Linked DNA regions of Homo sapiens: region 2 is linked to region 1. The links are contacts of gene promoters, found by promoter capture Hi-C in human tissues and cell types (Jung and others, 2019). All regions are on one chromosome and are shown on one strand. The core of a region is centred on a gene start or on the middle of the fragment in contact, and the rest is flanking DNA. Distances in the headings are between cores, read along the strand shown.

Region 1 (6,797 bases), core at 2,134-4,633:
CTGGTGAGGGTGAGATTCTGTGTGCCCAAAAGCCCAGGGGACAATTCGAATCTAATGCCCTGAACTTCCCCCCAAAAATCTGAGGCCTTGCTACTCCTGGTCGAGTTCTTTCTCTTGTTTCAGATTTAGGCCATTAAAAGTAAAGTTCTGAGAAGTGCAGTCTTCACTAAGCTACCTGGAGTTGGAGAAAGAAAGGCCTTTTGCGTTCTGTACTTTTTTCCCTTGGATTTATTACTTTTATCAAGAGTGAGCTCTTTTATATTCTTCTCCCTAGTTAAGCCTCACTAAATGGTATTTCATCCGCAAGTTTAGACAAACCTCGTGGTTTAAGGATGCAAATCCCATACCAGAGACAAATCCCGGGAATCCACACCTTTCCCTTCCTGACCCTGTGGGCTAAAGGCCCTTCCTAACTCTCTTATTTGGAGGCTGAAGACTGGGGGAGTCCTTTCGGAGCAGTCTTTGGGTTTTCTCCTCAAATTCCAGTGAATTTCGCTGCAGAATTCCTAGGCCGTGAGAAGGTGCCTGTTGAGTAGGTTTGGCCTGGGACTGGGCCTTCTGTGGGTTCGACTAAGGTTTGAAAGCCGCGAGACTGCCGCAGGAGGAGGAAGGAGGGAGCCGCGGGCCTGGCTCTTGCGGGCTCACAGTTAGGCAAGTGGCTGGAGGCCTGGATCTCGGGTGGGGCGAGCGGATTTGGGGCCCGGAGGGGCCGAATCTGATGGGCTGGGCCTGTTGGGCTCCCGGCTCCCACTGGGCATTGACAATCGGAGAAAAGAGAGTCGTTCTGGCCCCTCACTGTCTCTTTCTCTTTGTGACTCTGTCTCTCACACAAATACTCCCTCTTCCCCGCGACGCCCTTTTTATGCCCCCCACGTCAGGCCTGGATCTCCGACCTCCAACCCCAGGCCTGGCGCTGCTGTCCCGGGGTTCTGGCCCCGCCGGAGCATTGACATGCAATGAAGCGACTTAGCGTGGTAATGACGCTGGCATAAATGCAGCTCGGCTGGCTCCAGAGGCGACCCTGGCGCTCGCCCGGGCCTTTCATCAGCGCCTACACCGGGGGCGGCAGTCCAGAGCCGGCAGGTCCCAATCTGCACCTCAATGGCGCCCTCGGCGGGAATACAACAACAGTTTAGCAGCCCCAGCGGGTGCGGAGCCGGAGATCTGTTGGGCGCGGGGCAGCGGGGAGGTGGAAACGGGGGTTGAAATGGGGTGGCAGAGGATGGAGGGCGGCCTTTCCAAGCCCGCAGAGGGCAAGAAAGCGAAACTTGGAGTTCCCTTAAGCACACCGCGGCGACGTCTACGGAGTGTAAAAACCCATGCTCTCAGGCCTAGGGTTTGGCCTGCTCAGGCTATGGCCGCTGCTGGGAGGGTGTCGGTGCTCCTGGCAGCCCAGATCCTGACTTCAAACCACTGCACTGGCGACAGGCTGGGACAGCCCTGCAGGGTCTAGCCCTGGAAAGTCGACCATTTTCTGGACGGAGGGCGGCGCCAAGCCTCCAGCCCGGTTCAGCCGAGGAATTGTGCTCAGTTCAGGTAGGGCAAGGGAGGCCCAGAGCATGGGGAGGGCTTCCTGGGTCTGTAAGGCCCCTTGCCAGCTCCGGCTTCTCCCTAGCTTTTTGGAGCCTTCTGCCTACTCTGCTAGGTTTGGGGAGTTTGCTGAGGTGTTTGGAGGGAGAATTCCCCTTCTGCAGCCTTGGGTGGAATGGGGAGTTCTCCCAGCTCCTGCCTTCCTTCCACCTGTGAGGGAATGCTCCAATCTGCCACAGTTCCCATCCCCTTTTAGGAACGCCCGGTGGAAATATGGGAGGCCTGGAGATTTTCGAGAAACAAGCCCAGATGAATCAAAGGTCCTTACTAGAGCAACTCTGAGGCGGGACCTAGTGTAGTTAAGGAGTTTGTACATATAGCAGAGAGAAAAGACAGAGGTAACTTTCTTTTGGAGGACAAACGAGGAAGCTCAGCCAGGAAAATTAATTACTCTGTATTTCCTAGTGTCACATTAGGTCCTTTTCTTTTTTTTTTTTCTTACTTAAAAAAAAATCCCAAAACCGAAAGGGATAAAAGCCCCAGAGGACCCAGCAGGCCCCGGTGAGGAGTCCAAAAGCCCGGACTGACCAGTCTGGACGAGTAGGTGGCTCCCAGGCCTCCAGGTTCCGCGGCAGCCGGGCTCTGCCTCGCGAGCACGCCCGCGTTAGTAGCATCACCAAATCATGAAGGAACTCTCCCTGCTTTAATTAAAAAGGGGAATCTTGGGAAAACTAGAGCAGATTAACACAGCTAAAAGTCGGTTCCCGGTGATTTATTTTGATGCACGCACGAGACGGTATCTAGACTTGCAGGCACACACACGTCTGTTTTTAGGCTCAACTTCAGAAGCGGGTGTGCAGTTCCATAGGAGTTCTGTATTCGTGTCCACGTTGCACCCAGGAAACCTTAGCCTGAACACCAATTTGAACTGTCAGTTGGCCCTAGCTTCACACAAACAGGAGAAAAATTGTTTAACCCCTGGAGCTGTCAAGTAACCTCTTCAGGGTACAACTTTTATTTTACACGCTGCAATTAAGGGATTGCAAACCCCAGCAGAGCCACCGGAGCCGCTTGGCAGAATCTCCAACCTGGGGGAAAGCTCAAAGCCAATAAAACTCCCAAGGCGCTGCGGCCCGAGGGGGTGGCTGCCTCGAGCGGAGGCGATCCCTTGTTGGGAAAAAATCCTGGAGTGACTTCGCCGGTCTTGGTTTGGTGGTTATGTTTAATTGCGAAAGGGATAATGATTTCTAATAAAATTGCACGGGGCCAAAAGGGCAGCTCGGATCGTGGTAGCAGGGTTAAGGGAGAAGTGCTAGAAGCTGGGCCCCAGGCGTGGCGCTTGGACCTTGAGCAGTGCCGGGCTTTGCAGAAGGCATCTCTGGAGAAAAGGAAGCGGAGAAAGAAAGGAAGGGGAATGTGGCGGAATTGGGGTAAGAGAGGGGGTGTTGGGGCAGGGCCTCGCGGCGGAGCTCGAGGAAGGTTTTATCAGTTCGCAGGCTGGAGTGCGCTCTAGAAGCAAGTTCGCGGCGTAGAGAGGCCTTTATACCTGTGTCGGAGCGGCCGGCGGCAGATTGTGGTACTGGCGAGCAATTGGACTATTGTTGATATGCTAATGAGGCGATTAGGCTGTTGGTAAAGAGCTGGAAAAGGGAAAAGTTTCTACCATTAGAGGGAGATCTCCGAGCGCACACGGGAGCTCTTTCCCTTCTCTCCTCCTCCTCGCCCTTCTCCTCGCCCTCCTCCTCCTCCTCGCCCTCCTCTTCCTCCTCCTCCTCCTTGCCCTCCTCCTCTCCCTCCTCCTTCTCCTCCTCCACCTCCTCTCCCTCCTCCTCCTCCTCCTGCGCTCACCGCCGGCAGCCAGCACTTTGCGCTCACCCAGAGAGTAGCTCCACTTGGGTGCGAGACCGAGAGGGGCATATCCGTTCACGCCGATCCATGAAAATGCTTTGGAAATTGACGGATAATATCAAGTACGAGGACTGCGAGGTAAGCGCGACGCCGGCTCGATCATCCGTGCGGTCACAGGCTCCGAGCTTGACCCTCCCTCTCCTCCTCCTCTCCTTGCAACCAGCTGCGAAACGCGGGTGGGACAAACTTTCCCCAGCGCAGCGCCCGTCCCTCGGATTCGCCCGAAGAACGCGGGGGAGAAGCTGCAGAGAGAGGACGTGGATGCTCCCTTCTTTGGTTTCCCTACTTTGAAGCTCGTGTCCCACTTTACTCCCCTTTCTGACCAATTTTGGCTGTGCCTAAGAATGGGGGAAAAGAAGAACATGGGCTTTTGAAGCAATTGCTGGCAACTGGGCACTTGCCTGTGCACTCCTCGTGTTATCTTCATCGAGATTGAGGGCCCAAGTCACCAGGAACAGAAAGGAAAGAGAAAACTCTTTTCTCTCTTGAACTTCCTCTCCGATCTTTAATATTCCTTCTTCTTTCTATTCATTCATTCATTCATTCATTCATTCTTTCTTCCCCCCACCCCCACTTCTAAAGCGGTTCCCTTCTCGGCTTTAGAGACGGCCCCCCCACACTTCGCTGTGAGCTGGGCTGCATCTTCCTGTAAGCGGGTTCAACTTAAGACCACTGATCCCAGCTGCGGGGCTCGCTCCAGATCCTCTGTGCTTCACGAAGTTCTAAGTAGCTTCTCCCTCTGAGCTACAGGATCGACGCACCCCACGGGGGTGTGTGGGGGTGGGGTGGGGAGATGTGCTGCGCCGAGCCTGCTGGCCGCTGGGTGCGGGAGCACCAGCTTCTGCACCAGCCCAGAACGACCGTGGGAATCCTTGCGCGGCTGCAGACCACCTCTGGTGCCGCAAGCCCGCTGGGCCGACAGAGCGCGCCGCTTTGGAACCCATTTTAAAACGCAGAGTCCCCTGAGCTCGCCTTCTTGAGGCAGCAAGGGAGACCCTAGCGCGACCTGTCCACCCGCAGGAGGCGCTGGGAACGGTTACAACCAACACTGTAATGAGCAATGAGTCCGAGAGAGGGGTTGGGGTGTGTAGGGCTGGAGATTACCTAAATAAATAGGTGGCAGTCCCAACTTTTGCTGTTTTTTTTTTTTTTCTTTTTTGGCATTTGCAGCTGAGAATGTTAGGCAGGAGGTGTGTGTGCAGGCGCAGGGGCGGAGATCTTGACTTCACTCGAAACCAGAAATTGGGTTTATGTGAACGATGTGTCACCCGCTCCCTCCTCCCTTTTCTTTCTGAAGATTATTTTAAATCGTTCTCCTTTCAGGCCCCCCACCCCGGTAGATGGGGACGGGGTGACATCCCACGGGTACTGGCTCTTCCCTGGGGGGGTCCTGTCGCGCTAGAGGAGGGGCGCAGGGACCCCACGTCAGACCAGTCGCTTTGTTTTCGAGGCTGGGGGCGAGCTTTGCGGGCAGGTAGGAATGAAGCCGAACCCCTCAGTCTCATAGGACAATTCATACTGTACTGGTCTGGGCTTTGGCCGGAGGCTTGGGCATTTCACTTTCGCAGAGGCCGAAACCCAGCTCCAGGTGTGGGCGCCCTCGGCGGGCGGGGTCCGAACCTCCGTGCGGCTCTAGGTGCCGACTGGATGGGGTGGGTGGCTAGGTGGGGGATGAACTTGCACCCCTAGAGGGATCCTGTGGGGGCAAGTGTGAATGCGTGTGTAAGCGAGGCAAAAAAAGATGAGAGAGAGAGGAGAATAAAGTCAAAGCTGTTTCCACAACTTTGGCCGTGGTGGGCAAGCGCCGGAGCGGGGATTTCGGGTTTCGGAGCTGGCTTGGGGCAGTCTGATTGTGCCGGGGCTCTGTAGGGACACGCAGGAGGCGAGGTGCCGCTTGTTCTGACAACCTGGCGGGTAGACTGGCAAAGGCAGCACGCCGGGAGAGCTAGTCGTGTCATCTGGGGGGGCGTCAGGCGGGAGTGGCCCAGCCAGTCGGACGGGTTTTTGCCGGGAGCCGCGAGCCGGTGCCAGCGGCGCCCGGGCTGGGCCGCCTAGCGTCTGTGCGCGCCCCGGCCCGCATCCCGGCTCCCGATCCGGAATCCCCGGCCCCAGAGAGCCGAGGGCAGAGCGACGGTGGCCGGGGAGCGCACGGTGCCCCTGTCCGAGGAAAGCTCAAGAGGAGGCCGAGGAGAGGACCAGTGCAGCGAGCGGGCCGGTCCCGGGCAGGGCGCCGGGTCATGGAGGAGCCGCGCAGCAGCGGGCAGCCGAGTCCCGAGTCCCAGACTCGGCTGCGAAGCGGCGGAGCCCGCGGCCAGACAGGGCCGGGAAGCGCCTGCCGCGCCGAGAGCCCCACGAGCGCCCGGACGCGGTCCCAAGCAGCTCCTACCCGCTACGCACGACCCCCGCTGCATCCCGAGGTCTGCCCCAGCCTTTTAGGTCTGATTGTCCTCGCTCGCTTCCTCTCCCCTTCCCCCTCCCCCGCGGCCTCCCCCTCCGTGCGCTCCGGCTGGGCCCCCTCCCCCTCCCTCCCTCCCTTCCTCCCTCCCTCTTTCCCTCCCTTCCTCCTCTCGGGCTCTCCCTCCTTCCCTCCCTCCCCTCTCCCCACCCGGGGCTCCTCTCCCTCGCCCACACTTTCTTTCTCACACACGCACGCAGACACATTCTCCCTCTCTGCGCTCTCTCCTTCGGTCTCCCTCTCTGCCTCTTTCTCTTTCACTTTTGCATGCCCTGCAACCTTTTAAAATGTTGCCCCTTCCCTGTGATTCGCCAGACGCCGCGCCGCGGCCCCCCGCGCGCTCGCCCGCTCCCTCTCTCGCTCGCTTTTTGTCTCTCGCGCTCCCTCTCCCCACTCCGATTTGCTACACTGAGACTCCCGTCAATGGACTGCATTGAGAGCCGGCTCCGGCGCGAGTTGCCTCTCCGCTTCACGCTCGATTTCCAGGCATTCTTCCCTTATTAAGTATTCGTGTAATATTAATAGTCATGAATATCTGCTATTAGGAGGCTCCAGGAACGCTGCCCAGCGCGGTTATTAGAAGCTCAAGCGAAGCCGCCGCTAAGAAAAGAGGGGGAGACACGGATTAAGGAACACGCACGCACCCACACACTCACACATACTTTTTCCTTTTTCCTTTTTTGGGGTTTTTCATTTTTAAAGAACTTTGAATCATAACCAGTCGCGGCAGGATAGAGACCGTGGGTTCGACCAGCTGAAGGCGCCGCGCGAATCGGTGGTTCAAGTTCGGATGGATCCGAGCCGGGCTCCCGCGCTCCGGGGAGCGTCGGCGCCGTGACTGGAGTCCTGGGTGGCGCGGGGCTCTCGGCGCCTTTTGTGTGGGGCGCGCTCGGGCGGCGGGGCA
Region 2 (6,797 bases), core at 1,303-3,802, 280 kb after region 1:
CTGGGGCATGCAAAGAGGCTGCTTCTACATGTAGATTTTATCTCTCTATATACACACAGCTTTGTGGGAAAGTTTTCAGTTCCAAATTATTTCCTTAAACATCCTTAAGTATATGAACAAATATCATGTTTCAGATAAAGTATAAATTGTTTAACAAATGTATGCATTCTCTTGGCTTGGATAAATTGTTTTATTTACCAAAAACATATAGGTTGAGAGATTTATTTTTAGGAATATAGTCTATTTGCTACCAATGTGCATTTTGGTGGATGTGATGGTGATGACAGTGATGAGAGGGGACAGAGATCAGGATCTAGAGAGAGCAAGAGATGGAGTGAGTCAGGAGAGAGAGAGAAAATAAGCAGATAGGCTTGAAATGAGCACACACAGATTTGAGGTATTGAGGGAAACAGCAGTCACTGCTCTTACAAATTCCAGCTGGGTGGTTTCCTACGTGTCTGCAGTAAAGCTCTTGCACAATAAATGAAGAAAATACTACATAAAAGTTTAAATTTTATTGGGTGTGAAGCTCTTAAAGAATTGCTATTCACTAAGAGTTTAAGGAAGACTTAGTTTGAATAAATGAACCCCAACTAAAGGAGTACCCACCTTCCGTTTTCTTTTCTTCATGATATCTATGTGTTTGTCTTCTTGATCACATTCCCTTGTCATGATGGTCCCCAGCCAGCTGGAGCAGAAATTCACCTGAGCAGACATGGAAGAAAAGGTTATGCTGGGAAACGAAACATAAATTTCACTCAGTAAGAGTAACTATCTACCAGAAATGGGAATGACAGAACGACCATAGGAAAAGAAATGGGAATAAACCTTCACATCAACGCTCGTCAGTGCTATTTGCTAACAGATGCATTGAGGTAAATGCTGTTACCTCAAGAAGTGTTATCTTCTGGGGATCCTTATCATAATTTTATTTTAAATTCGAACAGCTGTTGTTTAACTACCACAGACCACAATTTGTCTACAGCTTGGGACCATAAAGTTAGCTTTAATGCACTCTGTTTCTTTTCTCTCCCCTGTATTTGATTTAATTTCCGTGAATCTGACACTCACATGCTATATACCATTTGCATATTTCAATATGTACTTTTGCAGATCCCATAAGTATTCAGGTGCTAAATGTGAAAGAATAAATAAAAATGGAAGTTCCCAATGACAAATTATAAAAGGAAGGAAGAAGAACTCTCAGGTTTCACTTACATGTAAAATATTCTGAACAATAACAGCTCCTTCAGGACAACAAAGCAGGTTTTTCTAGGGTTGTTGGTTTATGGTGACTGTAGAAGAAAACGGATGTTTTTTTTGGCAGTGAAACACAGTACACTTATCTGAATTGAGCCCTAGGGCTTACCATATAGCAACGGACAGAGAACTTCAGCTTTATTTAAGAAATCAACAAATGTGGCCACTTCTATAACCTGAATGTTTTCTAAAATATTCATGGTTTTTCATTCATGGAATTTTAAAAAACTGAGGTTGCGGTTTCAAACAAAAGAAAATTCTAGGGAAGATAGGAGGGGAATAAAAAGTCACTCTTGGGGAAACCTTAAAAAAGATCCCTGTGGGCTACTGTAGCGTATTTAGCGAAGGCGCTTTGTCAGATAGGGCATGAACTAACCTAGAACTCGGGCAGTTACTGGACAGAAAATCAATTTTGGTCAGGGTTAGACGGGCCCAAGACTTGTTCTTTGGTCTTAACTACAGTATGTGAAAACTTCCAAGTAGACGTCAGAGGACTAAAAAAGCTTTTTCTTTTCTTAGTTCTTTAGGCTGGTTTGTACAGATTTCTGCAAGTCTGGGGAACCTTAAAACTTCCATCTCCTTTTCCATTCTTTGAGTTAACAGCAACATATTGGTAGCTGAGCTTCACAATGTTGAGCTCTCCAAGTTGTTTAGGGTGATCTTTAGGCCTCAGCCCTTTTTGAATCTTTGTTTGTTGTAATCAAGTTCCAGAAGGAAATGAGGTGCGATCCTTATTGCAAAAGAATGAGGCAGGCTCTGGGGCTCAGTGATTCACTTACTTGATTTGATTATTAGTTTTCTGGTAACAAATGGTTGGTGCTGGAATGCTGATTTCACAGGCACCCTCACACACGTTAGTAAAATCAACAAGTGTGAGAGAAGCATCCTCAATTGTAAGTTAACAGTAACAACACGATGCTCATACATGTCTTAAAGCTGGAACCCAAAAGCCAAATTATAGTGTATGTTTTATTTCTGAGCCAGTATTCCTCATGGAAATGGGAATAGTCCAAATAGAAACAAAGTAACAGTGAAAAAGTGGGAAGGATTTGCAGGGCAGAATTTGGGAATTTGATTTTGAAGTATGAAAACGATGTCACTATAATCAAGTTTGAATAGTGAGTACATTTTTGCCTCAAATTTTCATTGTATCTGCTTCCTATAGACCCTAGAATTGGAAATCATTGGAAAGGGGATTAGTTCCTTTTAAGGAGAGTTGCTTGATACCCCAAGTTTCATGAGAAAGTTCTAAGCTAATTTACCAGCCAAAGAGGGTGAGACAAGCTACTGTAATCATCACCTGGTACCTTTCCTTTGAAAGAGTCTGACAAATGTTAATTAAGGAAACCTCAGGATGCTTGCCCAGGACAGATAAGGGGTTAATTTCAGCACCTCTGGGAAGAAATGCGAGAGCACCTCTATGTCCTTTCTTCCCTTCTGAACAGCTCTCAGGTTCTTGACACAGAAAGTCTGGGCACAAAAGGAAAGGGAAAGGGAGAAAAGGGCCATTCATGAATGTCTGAAAGAACGCTGGCTGCTTCCCTGAGAGCGATGTGATTTGACTGTGGCGACGTCTCTTCTCTCACCCCAAGCCCAGGAGGGTTATCAGTGAGCAAGGCAGAGGGAGGATCTTGGTTCTATTTTACTTCATTCTGAAAAACTGGAATGTAGCATAAGAGCTAGTTGCATGGCACCCCAAATGCTGCTGAGCCTAATGTACTTTTGCAGATCCTAAATCTGCAAAGGTGCTAAATGTGAAAGAATAATTAAAAATGGAACTTCTCAATGACAAATTTTAAAAGGAAGGAAGAAGAACTCTCAGGTTTCGCTTACATGTAAAAGGAACCCACCATTGAATTAACCACAGTCATGGCTTCCTGCCCGAGTCTCCATGAGATGGCTCCCTATTGACTGTAGCCTCAGCCCAGCCCTGTCTATCTCAAGCCATTTCACACTGAATCATAGCACACAGGTCTGGGACTTGAGGATGCTTATCTGACTGAAGCTTAACTGAGATGAATCATCTTTATAAATCTATTTTGGTCCACTGATAATTGCTTTTTAAATGAAAGCTTTTTTTTTTTTTTTAGACAGAGTCTTGCTCTGTTGCCCAGGCTGGAGTGCAGTGGTGCAGTCTCGGCTGACTGCAACCTCTGCTTCCCGGGTTCAAGCGATTCTCCTGCCTCAGCTTCCCGAGTAGCTGGGACTACAGGCACCTGCCACCACGCCTGGCTAATTAAATGAAAGCTTTAAAAAGTCTTCTTAAAAATAGAGAACATGTTCCCTTTCTCATTCCTCTATAAGGTGTTGAAGTCAAGGAGCATTTTATCTTAGGAGGCAGATACTTATTTATTTATTTATTTATTTTTTATTATACTTTAATTTCTAGGGTACATGTGCACAACGTGCAGGTTTGTTACATATGCATACATGTGCCATGTTGGTGTGCTGCACCCGTTAACTCGTCATTTACATTAGGTATATATCCTAATGCTATCCGCACCCCCCCCAGCACCCCACCCCATGACATGCCCCAGTGTGTGATGTTCCCCACCCTGTGTCCAAGTGTTCTCATTGTTCAGTTCCCACCTATGAGTGAGAACATGTAGTGTCCTTGTGATAGTTTGCTCAGAATAATGGTTTCCAGCTTCATCCATGTCCCTACAAAGGACATGAACTCATCCTTTTTTATGGCTGCATAGAATTCCATGGTGTATATGTGCCACATTTTCTTAATCCAGTCTATCATTGATGGACGTTCGGGTTGGTTCCAAGTCTTCACTATTGTGAATAGTGTGGAGGCAGATATTTATATGGGATAAAGAGATCTTGTTTTTACTCTTAATGTGACTTGTTTTGTGTATATATATTCAATTTAGTTGTTGTTGGAGGTATTCTGCTGAATTTTTAACTCAGGACCCAGACATCTTTATTGCTGTTTTTTCTTAGTGTGCTGAGAATCTTAAGAATATAAAGAAAAACTTTTCATTGCTAAGGGGTGTGTGTGTGTGTGTGTGTGTGTGTGTGTGTGTGTGTGTGTCAGAGAGAGAGAGGGAGAGGAAAAATGAGAATGAGAATTTTTGATGTGCAGAAGATGAACTGTGCTGGACATTAATGGATTAATTTTTAGCAGTATAAGAGATTTATACAGATCAAGCCACAATCAATTTGGCTGTGGGGATTGGGGAAATTTTCATGATAGCTGAAATGAATAGAACTGCTATGTTGTGGACTTATTTGTATAAATAGCTTGGAAACGGTCTTTTGTTCATCTATGAATTATACTCGGTCATGTATTTTATACCCTGATACTGTATATCTCATAAGAGGCATGAAGTTGATCTGTGGACCGGCTGTATGTTTTGGGGTGTTTTTACATGGCTCAAATAAAAATTCATTTATATACTCATTTAGTACAGATGGAATGAAGTATACAAAGATGAGTAAGTCATAGGCACAGTCAAGAACTGTAAAGGGCCTGTAAGCAAAGTGTTAACTGTAAACAGGCGAGCCTACCACAGTTTCATAGATGTTGGTAGAAGACATGAGATTCTTGGGTCAGAAACAAAGGATTTTATTAGTCACAGCAATGACAGTAGCCAGAATTTGCCTTGGTTCCCTGAACCATAACTCTCACAGTGCAACATGAAGAGGGCCAGGTGACCCTGCACGTGAAGAGAGTTGCATTGTAGAAGAACCCTGAATTTAGGAAACCTGGATCTTCTATAACAAGCAGTGAATATGCCTGCTCTTTATCTTGGAGGGAGAAATTATCCTTATTATACTGGACCATAAGCCCCAGACTCCAAAAGGAGACACTATCTTCCAAAACTGTTTGCTATACATCCCGGAACAAAGACAGTCAGGTGCAGGAACATGAGAGACCTGTGGAAGATGTTTTTAAAATCTCCACTTGTAGAAACAATCTCCCTTGTTTCTACACCCCTGCTTCTGGCAAATTTAGGCATGAGTATGCCACTCCATCTGCTGCTCTGGTCAATCTGACCAATAGAGGCTGGGGCCAAATCCATTCAATTTACCTCATATAGTATTTAATTAAAATTATTATCAACAGGACTTCAAGCAGCAGGATGAGGCCATCCTGCAGTATTAACCTCACCGTGACTTAAAGGGTTCCGGATTCCATAAGCTGAACAAGTTCAATGAATCATCCAGATCTATCTTATAGCCAGGTAGTATTCTCCTTTAGTTTCCACAGTGGCTTTTCTCCTCAGTCCAAGGCATTCATCCAGATGCAGCAGGATGTATTAGTGATTGCACAGACTTGTCCTGGCCTGCAAAAAGGAAGCTTGGGGCAGTTGTACTATCCATAACAACCCTGGCCTTTCTTTTTTTTTTTTTTTTGAGACTGAGTCTCGCTCTGTCGCCCAGGCTGGAGTGCAGGGGCGCGATCTCATCTCACCGCAAGCTCTACCTCCTGGGTTCATGCCATTCTCCTTCCTCAGCCTCCCGAGTAGCTGGGACTACAGGCGCCCGCCACCAAGCCTGGCTAATTTTTTGTATTTTTAGTAGAGATGTTGTTTCACCGTGTTATCCAGGATGGTCTCGATCTCCTGACCTCGTCATCTGCCTGCCTTGGCCTCCCAAAAAGTGGGATTACAGGCGTGAGCCACTGCGCACAGCCAACCCTGGCCTTTCAAAGCATAAGTTTTGCATATATTTTGTTAAATTTATTCTTAAATATATATATTTTCGATGTTCTTAAAACAAGAAATGTTTTCTTTCTTTTTTTTTTCCCGAGATGGTGTCTCACTCTGTCACCCAGGCTGGAGTGCAGTGGTGTAATCTCAGCTTACTGCAACCTCTGCCTCCTGGGTTCAAGCAATTCTCCTGCCTCAGCCTCCCCAGTAGCTGGGAGTACAGGTGTCTGCCACCATCCCCGGCTAGTTTTTGTGTTTTTAGTAGAGACGGGGTTTCACTATGTTGGCCAGGCTGGTCTCAAACTCCTGACTTCAGGTGATCGGCCTGCCTCCGCCTTCCAAAGTGCTGGGATTACAGGCGTGAGCCACCATGTCTAACAAGAGTTGTTTTCTCAGTTTCATTTATGGATTGTTCATTGCAATCATATTGAAATACAATTTATTTTTGTATGTTGATGTTGTATCCTGCAACCTTGCCAAATTGATTTATTAGTTTTAATAATTTCAATATGATTCTGTAGAATTTTCTATATATAAGTATGTCATCTGTGAATAGAGATAATTTCACTTCTTCATTTCCAATCTGAATGCTTTTTATTTATTTTTCCTGCATAATTGCCCTGGCTTGACTGCTAGTATAATGTTGAATAGAAGAGGTGAGACTTGACATCCTTGTCTTTTTCCTTATCTTTAGGGGAAAGCATCCAGTCTTTCACCATTAAGTATAATGTTAACTCCAAGTTTTTCATAGATGCCTTTTACCAAGTTCAAGAAGTTTTCTTCTCTTTACAGTTTGTGAAGTGTTTTTAATCATAAAAGGCCATTAGATTTTGTCTAATGCTTTTTGTGTATTTACTGAGACGATCATATAATTTT

Evidence for each region. Contacts are between HindIII fragments. The study calls those that stand out against the background at their distance.
Region 2: a fragment that was not itself captured here is called in contact with the fragment with the promoter of TFAP2A in region 1 in 1 of the 25 tissues and cell types used here (H1 embryonic stem cells).

What each region holds. Positions count from the first base shown.
Region 1 is chr6:10,411,660-10,418,456 of GRCh38, reverse strand. TFAP2A (transcription factor AP-2 alpha) reads left to right here and starts at 3,383. Exons shown (of 7, transcript NM_001372066.1): 1 at 3,383-3,516. The coding sequence starts at 3,466. It overlaps TFAP2A-AS1 (TFAP2A antisense RNA 1), which reads right to left and starts at 6,139. Exons shown (of 3, transcript NR_033910.1): 1 at 6,090-6,139; 2 at 3,406-3,776; 3 at 2,288-3,170. RefSeq lists enhancers at 868-1,525, 1,526-2,183, 2,842-3,501, 3,502-4,159 and a silencer at 5,540-5,899. The HindIII fragment of the contact is 28,400 bases long and covers 1-6,797 here.
Region 2 is chr6:10,135,529-10,142,325 of GRCh38, reverse strand. It overlaps LOC124900218 (a long non-coding RNA gene), which reads left to right and starts at 1,642. Exons shown (of 5, transcript XR_007059909.1): 1 at 1,642-2,378. LOC105374918 (a long non-coding RNA gene) reads right to left here and starts at 1,540. Exons shown (of 3, transcript XR_926456.3): 1 at 1,219-1,540; 2 at 610-705. It also overlaps the pseudogene OFCC1. The HindIII fragment of the contact is 3,973 bases long and covers 566-4,538 here.